3 separate regions of the Homo sapiens genome follow, and all the other regions are linked to region 1. Evidence: promoter capture Hi-C in 16 types of primary human blood cells and fetal thymus (Javierre and others, 2016). All regions are on one chromosome and are shown on one strand. Each heading gives the region's core, a stretch centred on a gene start or on the middle of the fragment in contact. The rest is flanking DNA. Distances are from core to core; before and after follow the strand shown.

What was found. The method cuts DNA at HindIII sites, captures the fragments that hold promoters and counts their contacts. A CHiCAGO score of 5 or more calls a contact.
Region 2: a contact is called between a fragment that was not itself captured here and the fragment with the promoter of EEF1G in region 1, in 11 of 17 cell types (naive B cells, activated CD4 T cells, monocytes and 8 more). The highest score is 8.3, in naive B cells.
Region 3: a fragment that was not itself captured here is called in contact with the fragment with the promoter of EEF1G in region 1 in 8 of 17 cell types (naive CD4 T cells, neutrophils, activated CD4 T cells and 5 more); the score reaches 8.4 in naive CD4 T cells.

What each region holds. Positions count from the first base shown.
Region 1 is chr11:62,572,634-62,575,333 of GRCh38, forward strand. It overlaps EEF1G (eukaryotic translation elongation factor 1 gamma), which reads right to left and starts at 1,258. Exons shown (of 10, transcript NM_001404.5): 1 at 1,198-1,258; 2 at 1-109. The coding sequence starts at 1,209. TUT1 (terminal uridylyl transferase 1, U6 snRNA-specific) reads right to left here. Exons shown (of 9, transcript NM_022830.3): 9 at 2,419-2,700. The coding sequence ends at 2,461. RefSeq lists enhancers at 1,227-1,426, 1,382-2,343, 2,127-2,186, 2,344-2,700. The HindIII fragment of the contact is 8,528 bases long and covers 317-2,700 here.
Region 2 is chr11:62,835,921-62,838,930 of GRCh38, forward strand. It overlaps WDR74 (WD repeat domain 74), which reads right to left. Exons shown (of 11, transcript NM_001369450.1): 4 at 41-116. Among named protein-coding and RNA genes, the nearest start is that of WDR74, 2.2 kb to the right of the region's middle. The HindIII fragment of the contact is 4,232 bases long and covers 1-3,010 here.
Region 3 is chr11:62,885,567-62,888,465 of GRCh38, forward strand. It overlaps SLC3A2 (solute carrier family 3 member 2), which reads left to right. Exons shown (of 9, transcript NM_001013251.3): 7 at 1-42; 8 at 2,569-2,652; 9 at 2,765-2,899. Among named protein-coding and RNA genes, the nearest start is that of SLC3A2, 6.1 kb to the left of the region's middle. The HindIII fragment of the contact is 5,324 bases long and covers 1-2,899 here.

The DNA of each region.
Region 1 (2,700 bases), core at 8-2,507:
CAAAATGGAAGTGGGGTGGTGCGGAGAGCACGCGGACCTGAGCCCCGCTGTACTGAGCAGCGATGAGAGCCTTGAAGGCCCTCCAGTTTTCAGGATACGTGTACAGGGTCTATGGGAGAAAGAGAGGGACAAAATTAATGAGTAGAAGGGTCCCAGTCCTTAATGCCACTCTCCAGGATGACTTTCCTGAATAATCCCAATGTATTCAACTCACCCTTTTACTTCCTCTGGTGAACCAAGTCCTTTAGTACTTGTCATATGTAATCAGAATCCTCCGAAATACCAAGAACAGAACTACACACCAACTGCTAAATAAAGCTTGTTGACAGATTTGACCTTCCCTAAGGACACCTCTGGAAGTATTCTCTTCCTCTCAAATCTATCTCCAAGAAATCCAGAACTTCTAGCTCCATCAGACTCCATCTGCCTACAAACATACTCTCCTCCCTTCCCGGAGCCCTCGCTTCATTCATTGATGGTTCCGAGCGCCTGCCTACTCTACTGCTCAGCTGCTCACCGCTTCAAAAGCATCGTCCTGTCTCTAAGGCACGCACGACGATCGAGAGATTTCTAGTTCCCCTCAGACTAGCCAGAGATAGGGGATGGCATGCCGTCTTCTTAAATCAACTCCTCTCTCTCAAAAAGCCTTTCTTTCCGTGTCGCGAATATCATCCCTCCGGTCCTGTCCCGCAGCGAGTTCCCCGGCGTTGGGCTTCTCTATTATGCCGGCCAGCGGAGTCCAATTGGTCTGACTTCACTGTCCGGAGAATCCTCTCGCTCCCAAACCTCCCTGAGAGACGACCTTTAACCGTGCCAGCCGGACCTGCCTACAAAGACCCTCCTCTTCAACCTGTCCCCTGTGTTACTCCACAAAACGGACACAGAAGTTCGTCAACCTGCCCAGATACCACGCCTCAAAGCGGCAACAGAGCCGAACCCCTTTCTCAGGCTTCGGACGGCCCAGACCCGGCATCTCTTTTCTCCTCTTCCCCAGACCCTTCCACCTCTGGCCTCCGAGAGCCCCAGCCTCAGTTCCCCTCCAGGCCCTAGGAACCCTACTCTCCAGCAGTACAGTCTGTAGACCCCCGAATCAGTTCCCCACTCAACCTCAGAACTCCTCTGGCGCCGACTGGCCCCACTCGGGCAAAGGATGGCGGTGGATAGGATGACCCGAACCACCAGAGCCAGCAAACTTACCCCAGCCGCCATGGTGATTCCGCAAAGAAAGGGGGTGGGGTTCTCGGCGCTGCCGCAAAGTAAGCCGCCCGGGAGAGAAGGGAGGGGGAAAGAGGAGAGCCGTGGAGAAACAGCAGCCGGAAAGCGAGGACGAAACAGAAGACATACGTACGACAGTTCGGTATCCAGTGGCGCTGAATTGGAAAAAGAACTGGGTGGGTGGGGCCTGCTGGCCAGCGCGGAAAAAGCTCGGGCCTGCGCATTGGAGCTCTTGACTGGCCCGCCCCCCAGGTGCAGCGGGCCAATCGGAGTCTAGACGTGGAGGTAGACAGCGTGGAGGGCGGGGAAGTTGTGAGAACCCGCTGGAAAAGCCGCGAGTTCTTGGCTACGTGGCGCGGTTGTTGGCCCGGCGCGGCCAGTGCTACTGGGGGCGTCCCTCTCTGGCCCTCCCAGGGACAAGTGACTTGATGGTAGATTTTGCCAAGCCCCTCACATGATTCTATGAAACTCATGGGAGCGAGGAACAGCTGCTGCGCGGAGGTGGCAGTGTGTGTGCTAAATCCCTTTAGTTCCTGCTCTGCTTTTCCTCCAGAAAGGGATGAGCGTCTAACAGGGGCCCCGGTCTGAACCCGCCTGCCAAAGTGAGGTTTGCTCACATCCAACCCCTGACAGCTCCAGGGTGCTGTTACTGCGAGCAGGGCACCGGCCCTCCGGCCCGAAGCAGGGCAGGGACATGAGGGAGAACGCGCCCTGTCCCTCCCACCTCCTCCGGACTCGGCCCCTGGAGGGGCTGACGCTGGAAGACCTGACATCGTCGCTTCTGATGTTCATGGCTTTTGACCCATGTTCAGGTTTGAAATCTCTTACCCAGTTTAAGAACGGGATGAACTCTCCTCGTTTAAAGGAGAGAATGAAGAACGCTGAACGCAAATCTCCGTCCTTGTGCGCATAAATCTGAGGCGACAGGAAGAATGTGGAGGCAAACCTGGCTCTTCTCAGTACTGCTGGAGCCACCCACCGCTCTGCCATTCAGGAACTCTGCGCGGGTGCCAGGTGCCACGCGCGGTGCTGCCCCCGCACTCCCCTCGAGCTGTGCGAACTGTAGGAAGGAGAAGCTGGTGGGGTGGAGAGCAACAGGGAGAGACCCATGTTCGGGGTCAGACGGGAGCAGCTGCAGGAAGTTCTGGGGGAGGGGAAGGGGGATTATGACCAGATGGAAATGAAAGGAAACGGGAGACTGTATTAATAAACTAGCAGCTTTATTGCCCTTCAGGGGCCATGTCTTCACTTGAGATGTCGAATTGCTTGAGGGAGGAAAACCTGTAAGAAATGATGGAGATCAGGGAACAGGCCTTGGGGATCCTGGAGCGGGGTCACAGTGAGCATTCGGTCAGCCGGGGAGACAGACGCCACAAAGCTCAGCAGGGGCTCAGTTTCTGGCCTCTCTTCGCCACCACTCAGTCCTTTCAGCTCCTGGGTGACCTGAGCCTCAGTCGCCAGCCACCCTGCTCTTGTGCCAGCGCC
Region 2 (3,010 bases), core at 402-2,901, 260 kb after region 1:
CAGCCCACCTCCCCCAACCATCAGGGCAGGGGAGCCTCACTGGGTCAGAGGATGTGTCCTTGTCCTTGTCATGCCAGACTCTGAGAATCCCAGAATCCACACATGTGATGAGGGTGCTGCAGAGAAAGGATAGAGTTGGGATTTTTTAAGTGCTTAAACTCCTTGTTCTAATCTTTCTCTCCTCCTTACTACTACAGTTGACTAATGTTTAAAGAAAAAAAAAAGTATAAAAGTATTCTCTAGGCCCCAAACTCATATCAACCAGATTCCCTACTAACAGTCCAGTTTAGAAGGAAGCCTCTAGGTCACTGGGCTCTAGGCAGGGCTTGACAGCTTCCAGCTTCCTAATCTGTTAATTCAACTTTCTCAACAGGGTGAGGGTTTACCAAGTGAGGAAATAGAAGCGCTGAGAAACTAATTTGCCACTCAGCTATGTTACAACCACAGCTAGAAATCAACTCTGTGATATTCCAGAGTGCTTTTGCTGTTCACAGCTATGTCTAGCATCTGGCTGTACTGGTCTGTCTGAATCTTGAGTTGCTTACTAGGGCTGGTCTGAATTTAGGGCTTGGTCAAAGTCAAACACCAACTTCTTGGGTTCCTTGCTCTGAGTTTCAGGCACTAAATGTCAGTCTCTTGCTTAAAATATCCCTCCCGAGAAGTCCAAGCAAGTCTCTCCCCAGGATCTGCACAGCCTGCGCCTATGTTCTTTCTCACACCTGCCAACCCTCCCTAGCTGGGTTCGGGCTCTGTATCGACTTGCCTGACCTGTGGCAAAAGTCTCCCAGTTGCTGTCTCCAATCCATCCTCCATACTCCTACAGGCTCCCAGTGCTGACTATGGTACTTCCTATTCAAAAACTGATAACTTGGCCAGGCACAGTGGCTCACGCCTATAATCCCAGCACTTTGGGAGGCCAAGGCAGGCAGATCACCTGAGGTCAGGAGTTCCAGACCAGCCTGGCCAACATATAGTGAAATCTTGTCTCTACTAAAAAATACAAAAATTAGCTGGGTGTGGTGGTACATGCCTGTAGTCCTAGCTACTTGGGAAGTTGAGGCAGGAGAATCGCCTGAACCAGGGAGGTGGAGGTTGCAGTGAGCCGAGATCATGCCACTGCACTTCAGCCTCAGTGACAGAGCAAGACTCCGTCTCTCAGAAAAACAAAAACAATAAATGAATAACTCACCAACACCAATAAAAGTGCACATCTCTCAACCTAGCACTTAAAGCCCTTTACATTTAATCCCAACCTAATATAGTGTTCATCTTGTATTAAAATGCTTCCTTGGCCGGGTGCAGTGGTTCACGCCTGTAATCCCAGCATTTTGGGAGGCTGAGGTGGGCGGATTGCCTGAGGTCAGGAGTTCCAGACTAGCCTGGCCAACATAGTGAAACCCTGTCTCTAATAAAAATACAAAAAAAACTTAGCTGGGCGTGGTGGCGGATGCCTGTAATCCCAGCTACTCAGGAGGCTGAGGCAAGAGAATCGCTTGAGCCTGGGAGGCAGAAGTTGCAGTGAGCCGAGACTGTGCCACTGCACTCCAGCCTGGGCAACAGAGTGAGACTCCGTATATAAAAAAAAAACAAAAAACAAAAAAAAAAAAACGCTTCCTTGTTATCAACTTCCAAATCAAATGCTATTTATCCTATTTATGTACCCTGTAGCATGCCTCCAGTCCTTGGCCTCTCCCAGGCAGTACCCTCTTTCTAGAATACCCTTATCCCCTTCTCCACCAGTCAAAATTCTACCCATCCCTCAAGAACCAGTTCAGACATCCAGTCCCCCCCACAGGCTTTCCAGACCTCACCTGTCAGAATTACCACCACCAAACCTATGCAGCCTGCTTCACAGCCCTCTTTCATCATCTTTGGAAGAAAGCAAGGCCAGTCATCCAACCACTTAGCACCTTCCTAATCTTTGCTTTCAGAGCTACATCACCTTGTTGGTGGTTGAGCTCAAGTTGAGCCCAGGAGTTTGAGACTGGCCTGGGCACACAGTGAGACCCCATCTCTATAAAAAACTTAAAAATTTAGCTGGGCAGGGTGACACCTGCCTGTGGTCCCAGGTACTCAGGAGGTTGAGGCGGGAGGATCGTTTGACCCCGGGAGGTTGAGGCTGTAGTGAGCCATGAATGCACCACTGCACTCAAGCCTAGGTGACACAGTGAGGCTCTGTCTCAAAAAATATAAATGAATTAATAATGAATTAATGAATGCATGCTTAAAACTTTTTTTGTTGTTTTTTTTGAGATGGAGTCTTGCTCTGTTTCACAGACTGGAGTGCACTGGTGCGATCTCTGCTCACTGCAACCTCTGCGGGACGGATTCAAGCGATTCTCCAGCCTCGGCCTCCCAAGTAGCTGGGATTACAGGCATGAGCCACCACACCCGGATAATTTTTGTATTTTTTTAGTAGAGAAGGGGTTTTACCGTGCTGGCCAGGCTGGTCTTGAACTCCTGACCTCAAGTGATCCACCTATCTCGGCCTTCCAAAGTGCTGGGATGACAGGCATGAGCCACCACACCCAGCCTTGCTTAAAACTATTAAATGACAAGCAGGCACAGTGGCTCACGCCTGTAATCCCAGCACTTTGGGAGTCCGAGGCAGGTGGATCACCTGAGGTCAGGAGTTCGAGACCAGCCTAGCCAATACGGTGAAACCCCGTCTCTACTAAAGATACAAAAATAGCCGCGCGTGGTGGCAGACGCCTGTAATCCCAGGTACTTGGGAGGCTGAGGCAGGAGTATCGCTTGAACCCGGGAGGCGGAGGTTGCAGTGAGCCGAGATCGCGCCACTGCACTCCAGCCTGGGCAACAAGAGCGAAAACTCCGTCTCCAAAAAAAAAAAAAACAAAAAACAAACACACACACACACAAAACTATTAAATGACTTGCCCATGGTTACTTAGAGGATTATAATGGAGTCAGGTGAAAAACCTTAGAGGATGAGAACTTTTTGAAGGCAGAAATTTTACCGGCAGCCCCTGTACTTCTCCCAGTGCCTGGA
Region 3 (2,899 bases), core at 400-2,899, 310 kb after region 1:
GGGGATGAGATTGGCCTGGATGCAGCTGCCCTTCCTGGACAGGTACTGCTTGCTGTCTTTCTGTCACAGGGAGGTTGTTTATCCATCTTACAATGATGATTCTGGGGATGGCGGCACATAGACGTGAGCCTTGGGGTGAAAACGCGTTTGATTCTTAGTCAGTAGCTGAGTGGCTATGTGGCTTTGGGCAAATTATTTTACCTTTCTGAATTTTGGTCATCCCTTGTGTTACTGCATTTCTTGAAGGGTGGTTAGTATTAAATGAGGGCATGTTTTTAATGGTAATGCCTGGTACCTGGCAGATGTTTGCTATGGTAGCCACCATTCATTTATTCATTCCTTTATTCTTTGGACAGTGGGTACTGTGCTAGGCTCTGTGCCCTCAGGAGCTCATAGTTTAGTGAGGGAGCCAGATAAATAAGTGGAGAAGTACATGGCAGTGGCTGGGCACGGTGGCTCATGCCTGTAATCCTAGCACTTTGGGAGTCCAAGGTGGGTGGATCACTGGAGGTAAGGAGTTCGAAACCAGCCTAGCCAACAGGGTGAAACCCAGTCTCTACTAAAAATACAAAAATTAGCCAGGTGTGGTGGTGCACGCCTGTAGTCCCAGCTACTGGGGAGGCTGAGGCAAGAGAATCGCTTGAACCTGGAGGCAGAGGTTGCAGTGAACTGAGATTGTGCCACTGCACTTTAGCCTGGGCGGCAGAGGGAGACTCCTTCTCCAAAAAAAAAAAGAAAAGAAAAGAAAGAAAGAAATACATGGTAGGGATACTACTACAAAGGCATTCACTAGCTTTAGATACAGGGTTACTGTTGATCCCCGACTTTTTTTTTTTGTTTGTTTGTTTGTTTTTTGTTTTTGTTTTTAAGACAGCATTTCCCTATGTCGCCCAGGCTGGAGTGCAGTGGCATGATCTTGGTTCATTGCAGCCTCCGCCTCCCAGGCCGAAGTGATCATCCCACCTCAGCCTCCTGAGTAGCTGGGATATGTACCATAGATAGGTGCGTGCCATCATGCCCAGCTGATCTTTTTTTTTTTTGGAGACAGGTTCTTGCTCTGTTGATCTGGCTGGATTGCAGTGGTGCGATTATGTCTCACTGCAACCTCTGCCTCTTGGGTTCAAGTGATACTCCTGCCTCAGCTTCCCAAGTAGCTGGGAATACAGGTGGTCTGGGAATACAGGCACACACCACCATGCCCGGCTAATTTTTGTAGAGACAGGCTTTCACTGTTGTTGCCCAGGCTGGTCTCCAACTCCTGGGCTCAATCGCTCTGCCTGCCCTGATCTCCCAAATTGCTGGGACTACAGGTGTGAGCCACTGTGCCTGGCCACAGCTAATTTTTAAAATTTGTAGAGGTGTGGTCTCACTATGTTGCCCAGGCTGTTCTCAAACTCCTGGGTGCAAATGATCCTCCCACCTTGGCCTCCCAAACTGCTATGATTACAGGTGCGAGCCACTGCACCCGGCCATCAGCATGATGTTTATAGAACCAGTTATTCATTTATTCCACAGATGTTTATAGAATAATTTCTGTCTGTTACACTGAGGATACAGCATTGCACAAGAGAGCTGGAGGTGGTTAGATAATTAGATATGCATAAATAAAACGCCAGCTGCTGATCAGTGCTATGCAAAAGAAGGCGGGGTAAGGAGCCTAGAGACTAGGGGATGATGGGGCTTGTTTTATAGAGAGTAGCCATAGGAGACCTGGTAAGATAACCAAGCAGATACCTGAGGGAAGTGAGAGAGCTGGCTGGCAGCCATCTGGGAGCTCTTGGCTGAGGGGCAACAGTGTATGTGTGAGGACCCTGAGGTGGGAGCCTGCCTCACTCATCCAGTAGAAGTTAGCCAGGCCGGGTGTCGTGGCTTATGCCTGTAATCCCAGCACTTTGGGAGGCCAAGGTGGGTGGATCACCTGAGGTCAAGAGTTCGAGACCAGCCTAGCCAACATGGTGAAACCCCGTCTTTACTAAAAATACAAAAAAATTAGCTGGGTGTGGTGGTGCACACCTATGGTCAGCTACTGGGGAGGCTGAGGCAGGAGAATCGCTTGAACCCAGGAGGCAGAGATTGCAGTAAGCCAAGATCGTGCCATTGCACTCCAGCCTGAACAGAGCGAGACTCCGTCTCAAAAAAAAAAAAAAAAAAAAGTTAGCCAGACATGAGTTGGGGAGGTTATATATTGATGAGGATGTGAATGGGAAGAGGGATACGGGACAGTGGGCCCAGGGCTTTTTTTTTGAGACAGGGTCTCACTCTGTTGCCCAGGCTGGAGTACAGTGGTGGAGTCATGGCTCACTGCAAGCTCAAACTCCTGGGTTCAAGTGATCCTCCCTCCTCAGCCTCCCCAGTATCTGGGACTATAGGGATGTAACACTACACCCAGCTAATTTTTAAAAATTTTGTAGTAGAGATGAGGGCTCATTATGTTGCTGAGGCTGGTTTCAAATGCCTGGGCTCAAGCAATCCTCTTGGCCTTGACCTCCCAGACTGCTGGAATTACAGATGTGAGCCACCATGCCTGACCCCAGGCCTTTTTAAAGTCCTATTTTCTCTGCTTTTCAGCCTATGGAGGCTCCAGTCATGCTGTGGGATGAGTCCAGCTTCCCTGACATCCCAGGGGCTGTAAGTGCCAACATGACTGTGAAGGTAAGAGTTCTAGATGGGTAGAAACTGACCGGTGGAGGGTGGGCTGGGCTTGTAGAAGTCTGTACCCAGGGGAGCCCCTCACACGCTTCTGCTATGTTTTTATCATTCTTAGGGCCAGAGTGAAGACCCTGGCTCCCTCCTTTCCTTGTTCCGGCGGCTGAGTGACCAGCGGAGTAAGGAGCGCTCCCTACTGCATGGGGACTTCCACGCGTTCTCCGCTGGGCCTGGACTCTTCTCCTATATCCGC